5 separate regions of the Homo sapiens genome follow, and all the other regions are linked to region 3. The links are contacts of gene promoters, found by promoter capture Hi-C in blood cells and fetal thymus (Javierre and others, 2016). All regions are on one chromosome and are shown on one strand. The core of a region is centred on a gene start or on the middle of the fragment in contact, and the rest is flanking DNA. Distances in the headings are between cores, read along the strand shown.

Region 1 (2,700 bases), core at 41-2,540, 490 kb after region 3:
TGTTTGAACCTGGGAGGTGGAGGTTGCAGTGAGCCAGGATCATGCCACTGCACTCCAGCCTGGCTGACAGAGCAAGACTCCATCTCTAAATAAATAAATAAATTGGGAGAGTGGGCATAATATAAAACTGATACTTGGCCGGGCGTGGTGGCTCACACCTGTAATCCCAGCACTTTGGGAGACCAAGGTGGGCAGATCATGAGATCAGGAGTTCAAGACCAGCCTGGCCAACATGGTGAAACCCCATCTCTACTAAAAATACAAAAATTAGCTGGGTGTGGTGGCAGGTGCCTGTAACCCCAGCTACTTGGGAGGCTGAGGCAGGAGAATCACTTGAACCCAGGAGGCGGAGGTTACAGTCAGCCGAGATCGTGCCACTGCCCTCCAGCCTGGGCAACAGAGTGAGACTCTGACTCAAAAAAAAAAAAAGCAAAAACAAACAGAAAACAAAACAAAGAACAAAATAACCTCATACTTGTAGTATCAGTTTTAAAACAGAGGTGTGAAGATATTTAAATTGTATTTCAATGATGTAAAAGGTGTATTTTTTATTTATAGATTCTTGAAGAATATCTTCTGTAAATTGCCTGAGTTTTTATTATTATTATTATTGCTGGTTTATAGCTGTTTTTCAGTTCACGCAGTAAAATTTTACTGGGTTATTTGATTTTTGAGAATCATCCCTGCAGGTGATTTTATATTACAAAAGTAAAGCTGAAGCCATTCTTAAGATGTGAAACTTACTGCTAGACCCTGATAGAACTAGTCAAATCGAGATATATTAACACTGTATCTTGGCAAATTTGCCTAGATAAGTCTTTATGATTTTCTGTCATGTGACTCTGAACAGTTATACACTGGAAAAAAAGTAAAATATGTTTTCAAACCATTACCCTATGTGATCCTCAAGAGCTAGAACAGAGTCTTAATATTTCTATTTTCAACACCTACCAATGTCTAAGACATAGTAGGAGCTCAATAAATGTTTCATAATCAAGAGCTCTGGGTCTCCTTGCCCCTTCCAGAACCCTATAATTATTGCTTATATTCTTTCAGCAGATACCAGTGTCAAAACAGATGACTCTTGTATACTAATACACAGTAAGTGCTTGATAAATGTTGAATGGAAGAATTTATTGTTTTAATACATCTCCATCCACAGTGTCTGTTAGCGGTTTGCCTTGTGATATGGAGAAGCTTATCAATTATTTATTCCTCAGAAACTTTCCACCAATGATCATCATCATTATAAATTTAGAGGAAGTAATATAGTCAACTATGAATTATACATGTCTGGGTTATCCATACTGTCTTTGGTTTAAGCCGTTATCGGTCCCTGGAAGCCGAGCCCTGGTGAGCAGTCCGTGGTCCTTTTATTGGTGGTAAGCTTTCCTTTCCATGCCAGTTTGATGGCTGGGGGTAGTAGTTTGGACCCCCATGTCTTTTTATGGCTTTAGCTGTGTCTCTGGCCTTTGGGAACCATGCAGTGGGGTCTGCCACCTGGCTGGTTAGAATCTGCGGACCTACTTTAGTTCCCATGTGCTCAACTTCATGATGTCCTTCTGGCTTGGAATGTTGGCTTTAACCTAGTTGGGTTATGGGAAACTGTATCAAGCCCTCATCTAATTGAATATATCATACGTAGTTTGCTAGTTTAATAATTTGCAAAAGGACTACTGGAGTTTTTGAACTTGAGCGATGAGTGCAGCATTGGGCTTTACTAACATGGGAAAGCAGGGGCGTAGACAGTGATGTTAACATGTAGTCGGACTAACATACAGGACCTTGGTTCAGTGTGCTTCCAGTACTGCCAATGAGGAAAGAGTTTTGGCTACTGGACTTCATGCATTTTACTGAAAAAGGGAATTTCAGCCTGCAGCTCTGTGATCTGGTTCTATTGAAACAGGTATATCAGCGGAGGGGTTTTGGTGATTATCATCCAAATTCATTTTGTTTTCATTCTACCCACTAGATGTGGCGTGTTGTATGCCTTGACTTCGGGGGAGAAGACAGTAAATTGAATGGAATTCGAATATTTATTCAGTTCTGTTGACAGAGGTTTTTCAATGTAAATGAATAAATTAGTGTTCTGGTGTCTGCTCTGTCTCCAGTACATTTTAGCTTGTCTGAGTCCTCTTTGAGGACCTGATCATGTCTGGGAACCAGAGATTGATAACAGCTCAAATCAAAGGGATTGATAACAGCTTAAACCAAAGACAGGATGGACAGCTAGAGATAGTCTCTAAGCCTTCAACTCAGAAGACCAGATCCTAGAACATGGAGCTAAATTAATTGATAAATCACTCACTAATCCACTAACCCACTAACAGCCAGGCATTGTTAGAGGCACTGGAGCTGCAGTAATGGCCCAAGCACACAGGCCTCTGATCTTCGCCCTGCTGCACACTTTAGTGGGGTGTACAGGCAGTCAATGCTAAGTAACCAAGGTGATGTTAGCTGATGTCAAGTGCTCTGATGAGAGGATGTGATGGAGAGTGACTGTGTGGCTGTCTTAGAAAGGATGGTGGCCGGGCGCGGTGGCTCATGCCTGTAATCCCAGCACTTTTGGGAGGCCGAGGCGTGCAGATCACGAGGTCAGGAGTTCAAGACCAGACTGACCAATATGGTGATACCCTGTCTCTACTAAAAATACAAAAATTAGCCGGGTGTGGTGGCACGTGCCTGTACTCCCAGCTGCTT
Region 2 (2,700 bases), core at 56-2,555, 430 kb after region 3:
GAATGCAGGCAGCCTCTAGAAGCTGGCAGAGGCAAGGAAACTAAACTTTTTCTAGAGCCTCTAAAAAGAATGCAGCTCTACATACATTTTGATTTTAGCCCAGTGAGGCCTATCTTAGACCCCTGACCTGCAGAACCGTAAGATAATAAGTTTGTGCTGCTTTAAGCCACTAAGTTCATGATTTTTTATTTAATGACAGCAAAAAGAATAATACAGAGGCTGAGAGGAGTTAGCTGCTCTTGAGTGATGGAAGGATTCCACATTCAGAACCACTCTCCTATACCTCTTGCTACTAAAACCATTCAATATCAATGATTTGTTGTTAAGCAGAAATGAACTGATTAAGGGATACTCAGTAGTTTACAGAATCTCTGGGAGGGTCACAGACTGGGTTCTGGAGCACACAGCCAGGTACAATCCCTGAACATACTGTAGGGCTGCTCTTCTAAAACATTTAAACAAATCTGTTTATATGTTTACTTTGGAAAGTTTCAAACCACAGAAAAATGGAAAGAGCACTATAATGAATCCCCATATCTCCTGGACTTGGTTGGGTTTCCCTCAAAGGAGATCCTGAGAGAACTTGGGTACAGGACATTTATTTGGGAGGTGATCCCAGAAAGCACAAGTGAAAGGGTGCAGGACATGGGACAGGAAAGGAAAACACAGTAATAATATGTGCATTCCTGTGGTGGTCACCGCTGTGTGCAACCGGGGCTCCGTCCTGGGGACCTTCTGGGAAACCATGCACGATAAGCTTCCCATTTGTCTCGCCAAAGGATGGAGAGACGGGGGCTTTTGTCCACTGCCTCCTCTCCCCTTTGGTTAAGAGTCAACCCTGAGAAAGTCAGCTGCCTCAGTTTCCAGGTTGTGCCTAACCAGTAGTATTGCACGCTTCTCTGTGCTGGAGAAAGCCCTCTGGCAGAGAAGCCGTGAGATGCGTCATTTGAGGTGTCAAGTCTTCCCATGGCAGAAACTGTGAACCACAGCTGTGAGTGAACTCAAACAGGAGCTGAAGGGATGTGGGGTGGGGCATCAACATCATCTGCTACAATCCCTCCTAAGATTTACTGCTAACATCTTGCCGTCTCTTTCCCTCTCTCTCTATACACCCACACATACGACAAAGATAAAGTATTTATCATGTGCCGGGCACTGTGCCTCTATTCAGCCCTTGAGTCTGCATAATGACCCTATGAAGCAGGTATCCCATACCTGTCATGCTTAGCGGTCACTGGAATCATTCCAAAGGGTGCTGGAACCATTCTATTTTCAAATATCATTATGCTGGAAATTACATTTTGTGCAACTATTTGAACTTATGGTGACAAATTTTAGATGCCAACCTAAAAATATACAGGAAGGTGCATAGTTTTTCAAAGTTCTTTCTGCGAGTAAGCAGCCAAAGAGTCCCCATCCTAGACTTGTGCCGTCGTGTCTGCATCTGGTGCTATGCCCAGAATCACTGAAGAGGATGATGGGGGCTGGGGTAGGGGGAGACATGGGGAAGGAGCTAAGACACTTCTGTGGTTGCCCTGAAAGAATCCTGGGAAATACATTTTTAAAAGAAAAACAAAATGAGGGATGCTATAGATAGAAAGTGAGTTCAGCTTGCTGAAGGTCCAGATGGATGCGTGCTGAATACCCAGGCTGTGCTCTCCACATTCTGATTCTGTCCCTCTCGGAGCCTGAGGATGCTGAGTTAGTGGTCACATGCCGTACCACCCTGTCGCCTCCCCTTTTATATTTACTTCGTTTTCTTAATGTTGCCTCCCCAACCTCTAAATGTTCAACTTACTTTATGATCAAAGTAGCTATTTAAAAACAAACAAACAAACAAACAAACAAAAAAACAAGCTTTTCTGGCTGGATGTGTTGGCTCACACCTGTAATCCCAGCACTTTGGGAGGCCGTGGTGGACAGGTCACTTGAGGTCAGGAGTTCGAGACCAGCCTGGCCAACATGGTGAAACCCCGTCTCTACTAAAAATACAAAAAAAAAAAAAATTAGCCAGGCATAATGGTGCACGCCTGTAATCCCAGCTACTCAGGAAGCTGAGGCAGGAGAATTGCATGAACCTGGGAGGCAGAGGTTTCAGTGAGCCCAGATCATGCCACTACACTCCAGCCTGGGCAACAGAGTGAGACTCTGTCTCCAAAATAAATACATAAATAAATAAAAATAAAAAGATTTTTTTTGCTTGATTATCCCTTTTATTTTTTTTATTATACTTTAAAGTTCTAGGGTACATGTGCACAACATGCAGGTTTGTTACATATGTATACATGTGCCCTGTTGGTGTGCTGCACCCATTAACTCGTCATTTACATTAGGTTTATCTCCTAATGCTATCCCTCCTCCCTCCCCACAACCCACGACAGGCCCCGGTGTGTGATGTTCCCCTTCCTGTGTCCAAGTGTTCTCATTGTTCATTCCCCACCTGTGAGTGAGAACAAGTGGTGTTTGGTTTTCTGTCCTTGTGATAGTTTGCTGAGAATGATGGTTTCCAGTTTCATCCATATCCCTACAAAGGATATGAACTCATCCTTTTAAAATAGGATTTTTTATCTAACTTTGTCGGGAAGACAAGCTGACACTTTCTTCTCTTCTAGAGCACAAATACGGTAGCATTCTCTTCACAGTGCAAGCACATTGAGGGCACGATGTGAGCTGTGAGGTAGTTGTGAGGCTGTGATGAGA
Region 3 (2,700 bases), core at 44-2,543:
ACTACGCCCGGCTAATTTTTTGTATTTTTAGTAGAGACAGCGTTTCACCGTGTTAGCCAGGATGGTCTCCATCTCCTGACCTCATGATCCGCCCGCCTTGGCCTCCAAAAGTGCTGGGATTACAGGCGTGAGCCACCGCGCCCAGCCTTTTTTTTTTTTTTCTTGGAGACGGAGTCTCCCTGTCACCCGGGCTGGGGTGCAATGGCTTGATCATGGCTCACTGCAACCTCGGCCACCCTGGCTCAAGCGATTCTCCTGCCTCAGCCTGCCGAGTAGCTGGGATTACAGGCGTCCGCCACCACGCCCAGCTAGTTTTTGTATTTTTAGTGGAGAAGGAGTTTCACCATGTTGGCCAGGCTGGTCTTGAACTCCTGATCTCAGGTAGTCCACCCGCCTAGGCCTCCCAAAGTGCTGGGATTACAGGCGTGAGCCACCGTGCCCGGCCAAAATCATTTGCTTACTGAATGATACGGAAAATATGAGTGAACAAAAAAAGTATTGAAAAAGATGAGTTGATGGCAAAGGGAGGGAATTAATGTTTAGTGAACACTTAATTGGCAAGTAATGTTCAGAGCATTATATAAATTGTCTCATTTAATCTAACAAGAACCTTTTGAGGTAAATACGTTATCCCAATTTATAGAGGAGGAAACTAAGATTTATAAGGATCTCATCAATCAGAGAACTCTTAAGTGGCACCACTGGACTTTGAAAGGAAGTCTGCCTGATGGACTCTGAAGCTCATCCTCTCTCTATCCTCCTAATGCATATAATGACGCATTTGTTATCTACTGACTTTTATAAAATAAACAAGGAGGCTTATGCGATTGTACAGCCCGAGTTCGCAGGAGATATGTGACCACTTTTGATCTGATTCCGGAAGCAAATTCACTTTAACAGTGAGGTGCCGTGATCTTTATGTCATTAGCGCATATGATATGGGTATCATTTGTTGTGAAAGACACTAACCCATGATGTTTTTGTTTACGTATATCTGTAAATGTATCAATTCTGTAGTTGGTTAATTTTTAGTTACGAAAAAATGAACCAAGATGTAGTCAAGATTTGGCTTAAATGTTGAACGCATAATCACCAAAGAAAATTAAATAATGAGCTTTGTGACACCTTTCAGTTCGCCAACAGACTGATAAAACCAGTACAAAGGGGGAGGGCCGGGACCGAGGGGGCGGGACGGTGAGAAACGGGAATCGAGCAAGCGCAGAAACAAACAGATGTTAATGGAGGCGTGAAGGCTACTGCGCTCTCACTTTCCGAACTGTCGTAAAGAGCCCTAGTGTCGTGCTCTCCTCGGTAGGGGAGGAATTGGTTAGGCGGCGGCGGCGGCGAAGCGGCGGCGGCGGCTGTAGGGGAGCAGCGGCAGTGGCGGCGACGGCGAGGAGGTGTTCGGTTTGCGCAGCGTAGAAACGCCCGCAGCTTCAGAGAAGGAGTTCTTGTGGGACCAAATTAGGCATTCTGAACCCACGCCGGCTTAGCTGGGCCGAGTCCAGGCGCTGCCGCACGTACAGTTTTGGTGGCGGTGACAGACACTGTTCTTGACTCTAGGGGCCTATTAGGCCGACGTCTGAGGCGCAGATCGCTGGCTCTCGACGCATTACTCTTTACGCCTTACATTTCTGTCTTCCTTCCTGGGTCAGTGATTCCCGGACCCTGGAAGAGAAGAGGGTGGCTAATGATTAAGGTGAGGGGAACGGGGGGGGAGGGGATCCATTGGAGGCCGCGCGTGCGCGCAACGGGGGAGGGGCCGGCCTGGAGGGGAGAAAGAGGAAGGGCTGCGGCCGCGGAAGGCTGGGGTCGGTGACCGGCCGGTTATCTCTGGCTCGGTGGTGACTTAGGGTCTGGGTCTCCGCAGACGATTTGTGTTTGGGCAAGGCATTCGTCTACCGACACACCCACAGCCTACAGTGAGGGAGTGTGGGTGAGGGGATTTCTCTCCCACTTCCGACTCTCCCTAGAGTCTCAGGATGGGGGCTGAGGACCGAGGCGTGGGAGTGCGATTTGACAATGGAGTGATGAAGGTAACCCGGACCCGGGGAGTTGGAGGGCGCTAAGTCAGCCCTGACGGCTAGGGAGTCGCCTGCTGCTGCTGTGATCAAGGAAACGTAGTCCGCGGAACAGCTGAAATACAGACGCGTCAGATTTTGTATGGAGTTGGCTTGTTGGTCATTTAAAAAGAAACTGATGTTTTTACTATTGTCCTTCGATAATTTATCAGAGTCAGTGTCAGTGCTATAGTGGGAATATCTGTTCAGTGCAGCAGAAATAGATTTGTTACAACAGTTCTTAAATAGGTTATAGTAGATAGATCTTTACAGATGGGTATTTCTCAACCTAAGTTTTGATTATTCAAAAAATACCAGAAAGTATGAGGTATTCATTTAATTTGTTCGTGTGTGTGTTGTGGGGTGACTCCATTGTGTTGTTGTAAGCTTTCCTGTTTCTTGATTTATGTGCGGCATTAATTTAGAATTCTCTTGAATGGTAAGATGCCAGCTGACATAGACTACGTTTTGTAGGATTTCCTGTAGCTTTTGAATGTGACTTAATCTAAACTTTATTTCATTTGGTATTTTATCTATAATTTTCTTGTTTTAGGGGCCTCTTGAACTAAAAAGAACAAACTGGGAAAAACATAAGCTAAGGTTCCATTTCCTTTCCCATTTTTGTTGTGTGTGTGTGTGA
Region 4 (2,700 bases), core at 102-2,601, 450 kb after region 3:
ATCCCCGCCCGCCAACTCCAAGGCGCTTGGATGCGAGCTCTGTGGGAAACAGCAGCGACGAGCAGAGGCTATTTTGGGTGTGGGAACGAGGAGGGAGGAGGGGCGGCGCCGCCAGGCTGGGCGCGGGTGCGCGGGGAAAGCCTCCAGCTCGGGCTGCCACGGCAACCGCGTCCAGGCAACGCGCCCGGAAGCGGCTCCGGCGGCGCGCGGCGGCTCGCGCCCCCCGGGAGCCGCGAACCCGGCCGGGCCGCGCGCCGGGCCAGGCGGCAGGCGCGCGCTGATTGGACGGCGCTCCCCGCGGCGCGGGCCCGCAGCCGGGCGCCCTGCTCAGCCAGCGCCAGCGGCCGCCGCACCCAGCCGCGCCGGCGAGGACATGGGCAGCCGCGGCGCGCCCACCCCCCGCGCCGGTGAGTGCCGCGCTCTGGGAACCCCGGCCGGGCGGCCTCTGGGGCTGGGCGGCGGGAGCTCTCTGGGACGGCCGGTGACCTTGGGGCAGCCTCTCAGGAGATAGGCGTGGGGTAGAGAGAGCTGCGCGTGGCCCATGTGACATGCCGCGGGCGAGAGGGTTAACTGCATGTGACGCGAAGGGCTGAAGTTGGGCACAGAGCGCAACTGGCGTTGCATTTTCGCGGGGGCTGCATGCTAGCGAACCAACCGACGCCCGGAGGGACTGTTTGGGGGAGCTGGGGTGGTGCACGGATTGCCAGGGGTAAAGGCGAGTCAGCCGACCCACTACTCAGAGTGAGTGACCTTGGGTAGGTTAACCATCTGCTCTTCCGCCCCTTCGCTTTTTCTCATCTTTCAAACGAGAGGCTAGGGGGTCTTTGCAGTTCCAGAATGCTGTTGTGCCATCCTACTGCGAGCTGAGAAAGAGCCCTAAAGTACGGTTCTGCAGGTACCGGAGATGCAAAGCTTAACCATGTTTATTCTAGGAGGGGTTTCCATTAATTGGCTCCTAAAGTGGTAAGAAATGTTATCGTTGTCTGGAAGATTATGGAGCAAGCAGTCGGTGGTCCGGAGAATGGCTTCTTAAGATGCACAGGTTAAAACCTCTTTGGTGCCCTAAAGACATGAACAAAATCAGGATTAATGCTCCTAAGTTCTTCTTTCCTGTAGTTAATCTAATAGGAAACTTTGTATTTGAACAGGTAAAATCAAAACCCAATCGTGGCAGGCAGCAGCAAATTAAGTGAGTCATTTCTTCAATGTGCACGAGGTTTATGTGTGTGTGTGCGCGCGTGTGTGTGTGTGCGTGTGTGCGCGTGCGCTCTCGTCCTCAGCTCAAAGTCTGCGTACGGCAGTGTTGGAAATTATTTCATAGGAGTAACCAGAAATAATGCTAGAATGATTCGAATCCACAAAAGTGCAGCTCTCTCAGAAGCAAGGGCAAACATTTGCAACTTGCTTTTAAAATAAGAGGTTTGTAGAGTAAATATATTCTTTATTGAGAACCATCCCCAGATTTGCACATTGTATCTGCCTTCTGGGCCCTGTCACTGAATGCGCGTGTGTGTATGTGTGTGTGTGTGTGTTGGGGGGGGCGGGTTCCTTGGCACTTATAATATTTTTAGCGTTGACTGGTACTAAAAAGGACACTTAGGCCCCCTTCCATATCCACTGTCTATAAACTTCCCTCTTCCACGGAGGGGAATGGAGGACGTACCCTCTCACAGGTACCCCTGGTTGCCCCTTCTGACTTTCTACTTAAAGCTACCCTTGATTTTCATTCGAATCTGATTTCATCTGTATAAGAACGTGGGTTGGGAAGACACAGTTTCCAATGCTAATGAATAAGCTTCTGCAAGCTTGTTTACCTGAGGGCTTAATAACCTTTAATGTGTTACATGTTAGAAATCTGATAGCATACGGATAGAAAAATACTTAGTGTCCAGGAATTCAACCATGAAGCCCTACCAACCATTTAATGAGCCACACTACATGGTGCTTGGAAACGTTATTAGCGCATTATTCAGCCTCCTCTCTCTGCAGGCCACTAGGCTGTGTCACTCCGACCTGGCTTTAAATGTCTTGTTTCTTGTATCCTGCAGCCACACTCTTGCATTTTCATTTTTTATGTAGCTGAACCCACCTTCTCTCCCGAGCACCAGAGCCTGAGTGAACAACTTGCCGCAGAAGAGCCTTCTCTAGTGTCCTCCACCGTCTCACCAGAGTAGGGATGCTCTTCCGCTTCTCCTTAGTGCTGCCTCCAAACCAATGCACCATCACCAACCAAGTCTCCTCTCGGAAGGTAGTGCTATCTGCTTGTGCCCCTACCCTCCTTCTTATCTTCTGGTCCAGTGCTTCCCAAACCTGGGGGCTCCTCAGAATCACCTGGGACATTTTGAAAAACTTGGTCTTTAGACTCTCTCAGATATACCAAATTAGAATCATTGGGGGCTGGGGCAGGGTGGGGGAGTAAGACCTAAAAATCCCTACTTTAAAAACAAACCCCAAAAGGAGGAGCAGCAGGAGACGATGAAGAGAAGGAACAGAACTCTCTGGGCAATTCTGATGTACACCCAGGTACAGTGGGGATCTCTTCACTTGATGCCCCAAAAAAGGGATAAACAAACAAAAAACGTGAGCAGCCAGCTTCATTCTCTTCTCTGCTTTGTCTCTTGCCAGTGACTTTGGGTTTTGTGTTGAAGCTCTCTTAATTCTTTGACCTTGAAGTTCCTCAACATCTATCCCAGTAGCCTC
Region 5 (2,700 bases), core at 32-2,531, 470 kb after region 3:
GGCCTGATTTTATTTACGGTAGTCCCCCCTTATCGATGGTTTCACTTTCCACATTATCCAAGGTCAACCATGGTCAAAAATATTAAATAAAAAATTCTAGAAATAAACAATTCATAAGTTTTAAATTGTGTGTTGTTCTGAAATAGTGTGATGAAATCTTGTGCGATCCTGCTCCCTCCTGCCCAGAACGGGAATCATCCTCTTGTCCAGCATATCCACACCATGTATACCTGGCCCTGTGAGTCACTTAATAGCCATCTCTGTTATCAGATTGACTGTTGGGGTATTGCAGTGCTTGTGACCAAGTAACCCTTATTTTACTTCATAATAGCCCCAAAGTGCAAGAGCACTGTGCCTAATTTATGAATTAAACTTAATCATGAGTATGTATGTGTAGAAAAGAATAGTATATATAGGCTTCGGTTTCAGGCATCCACTGGGGGTCTTGGAATGTACCCCTGACAGATGAGGGAGGGCTACTGTAGTCTATATGGCAGAAATGCTTCTCTTTGACACTGAAGAACTCTTTGGGCACCATAGCTTGTTTGGCATGAATGACTTTTTTTTCCTTAAATGTAATTTGTTTAAAGTTCTTTGTCTAAGAAAATGAAATGTGCACATTTTGAAACTCCAAAAATAAAACACTAGAGAGATGACGCCAAAACAGTGATTTCAATCAGAAATGCTTTCTGAATCCAGCATCTAAATGAGAATTAATTATGGAATCAGATCATAGTTAGTAGGCATTCATTATTTTAAGGCAATTGATAGCAGTATTGAGGAACCTAAATAATAAAGTATTTTAAACATCCTCTAGTGTTTTTCACATTTCTAATGAGTTGTGGGGACCAAATGTTCCTTATATGCAAGATGAAATATGAATGATTGTATCTTATTATAAAGTTTTCAAGTTCTAATGAGGAATATCTTTCTCACTCCCTTGGTGGATAGATATCTTCCCACAAATCAGATCACATTGATCATGTGCTGTTTTATTTGAGATTAATTTAGAAATAAGTGCTCTTCATTTACCATGGAATTAGTAGTAAAAGTTTTCTGAGATCAAATTTACTGAGGTAGTTTCCTGCAAAATTCTACAGAGAAGTATAAGATTGGATAAGCCTATTAAACACTCTAGTTTCTGTTAAAAGTGGTTTCTCAAGCTTGAGATGCAGATTTGGAGTGAGGAAACTTCAGGAAACTCCATTGTACAGTCCCTGTTGGTCTGTCTTGCAAGGCTTAGCAATATTAATTTCAGAAGAGCTTTGATTTTGCTTGATTGCTTTTCTTCTTATTTGGAAACATATGCTGTTTATTTCATGTATAAGATACAAAACATTTAATAATATAACTTATCAGTGTTTCAACATAATTTATGATCCACTTAGCAACTTAATAATAAGCTTTTGAGGTTAAGTTCTAGATATAAACTGTTAAATAATTTAGTGCTTATTTTTTCAACAGATGTGAATTATTAAAAAGAAAATGGCCCAACGGAGCACTGTATTTCCTTCTCGTGTCACCAAGGAAAGGTATAATATATGGAAAATATGCATCTAAGGTATACTTTTCCTTTCCACTCATCCCATGGGGGCTGCTAGTGGGTGTGATAGTTACAAATCAAAGCTTGGGCTGTTACATTATCGGAGAATGGTTTTGTTCAAGGGCAAGAGAAACACTATTGTGTCCTCTAGCTTTCAATTTATAGGATACTGTGGACCACTCAGTGACCCCAAGAAGTAGAGATTTCACAGTAGTCCTACAGTAGACTTGAATTTCCTGTTGAGAGTGAAATATAACTCCGGGGGCTTCAGGCTAACATCCCTGTTAAGCTTTTTAAATCAGAAGTTGCAGATTAGGGGCCTATCGGCCAAAATTGGCTCATGAAGTACATTGCTTGGCCTAGCATGTTCTTAAATACTTTTTTTGGAGACAGGGTCTCACTCTGTTCCCCAGGCTAGAGTGCAGTGGCACAGTCACAGCTCACTGCAGCCTTGACCTCCTGGGCTTAGGTGATCTCCCACCTAGCCTCCTGAGTAGCTGGGACTATAGTTATGTGCCACCATGCCCAGCTAATTTTTAAATAATTTTTTTTGTAGAGATAGGGTCTCGTTGTGTTGCCCAGGCTGATCTTAAACTCCTGGGCTCAAGCAGTCCTCCCACCTCAGCCACCCAAAGTGTTGGGATTACAGGTGTGAGCCACTGTGCTGGCCTTAAATACTTTTTAAATGAATCGTTAACATTTTAAAATCAAGCGATTTCACATACAAGTCGGGATTTGCTAGCTTTTCTTGAGAAATATCAGATCATCTGGAAAAAGGGACCTGAAATCCCTGATGGTCACTCATGGGTGGAGCAGAACTGTGGCTCCCTTTAGCTGGGAAATGCCCTTTCCAGATCTCTAAATCCCTGACACTCCCTATTGCCTCATATGTAGTATGCTTCACTCATTTATGTCGCCTGCCTGACCCACGTAGGCATTGAGTTTGTAACCACTGTTTCAGAGAGGGAGGAGGAGGAGAGCATGTTAGGAGACTTTGTTAATGCACTTGATCTTGATAACATAGATTATATTGGGGAGACATCTCGGTGTACCCAACTCTGCCAGCCTCTTGCTCTTGGAAGTCATGGAGACCGCTTCTAAAACACTGAAGTCTGTGGGCATGATTATTTAAAGATCTTTCCCGGCTTGTGAAGAAA

What was found. Contacts are between HindIII fragments. The CHiCAGO score rates a contact against its expected background, and 5 or more counts as called.
Region 1: a fragment that was not itself captured here is called in contact with the fragment with the promoter of RNF111 in region 3 in 13 of 17 cell types (total CD8 T cells, naive CD8 T cells, naive CD4 T cells and 10 more); the score reaches 14.6 in total CD8 T cells.
Region 2: a contact is called between a fragment that was not itself captured here and the fragment with the promoter of RNF111 in region 3, in 3 of 17 cell types (M2 macrophages, naive B cells and total B cells). The highest score is 7.0, in M2 macrophages.
Region 4: a contact is called between a fragment that was not itself captured here and the fragment with the promoter of RNF111 in region 3, in 4 of 17 cell types (endothelial precursors, total B cells, naive CD4 T cells and 1 more). The highest score is 6.8, in endothelial precursors.
Region 5: a fragment that was not itself captured here is called in contact with the fragment with the promoter of RNF111 in region 3 in 3 of 17 cell types (M2 macrophages, endothelial precursors and naive B cells); the score reaches 6.9 in M2 macrophages.

What each region holds. Positions count from the first base shown.
Region 1 is chr15:59,476,704-59,479,403 of GRCh38, forward strand. All of the region lies in intron 3 of FAM81A (family with sequence similarity 81 member A), which reads left to right. Among named protein-coding and RNA genes, the nearest start is that of FAM81A, 40 kb to the left of the region's middle. The HindIII fragment of the contact is 190 bases long and covers 1,196-1,385 here.
Region 2 is chr15:59,415,560-59,418,259 of GRCh38, forward strand. It overlaps a transcript of FAM81A not described here. Among named protein-coding and RNA genes, the nearest start is that of FAM81A, 21 kb to the right of the region's middle. The HindIII fragment of the contact is 1,100 bases long and covers 756-1,855 here.
Region 3 is chr15:58,986,370-58,989,069 of GRCh38, forward strand. It overlaps RNF111 (ring finger protein 111), which reads left to right and starts at 1,294. Exons shown (of 14, transcript NM_017610.8): 1 at 1,294-1,699. RefSeq lists a silencer at 2,013-2,177. The HindIII fragment of the contact is 2,845 bases long and covers 1-2,445 here.
Region 4 is chr15:59,437,876-59,440,575 of GRCh38, forward strand. It overlaps FAM81A (family with sequence similarity 81 member A), which reads left to right and starts at 311. Exons shown (of 9, transcript NM_152450.3): 1 at 311-407. RefSeq lists a silencer at 9-538. The HindIII fragment of the contact is 883 bases long and covers 911-1,793 here.
Region 5 is chr15:59,457,086-59,459,785 of GRCh38, forward strand. FAM81A (family with sequence similarity 81 member A) reads left to right here. Exons shown (of 9, transcript NM_152450.3): 2 at 1,465-1,561. The coding sequence starts at 1,542. Among named protein-coding and RNA genes, the nearest start is that of FAM81A, 20 kb to the left of the region's middle. The HindIII fragment of the contact is 240 bases long and covers 1,162-1,401 here.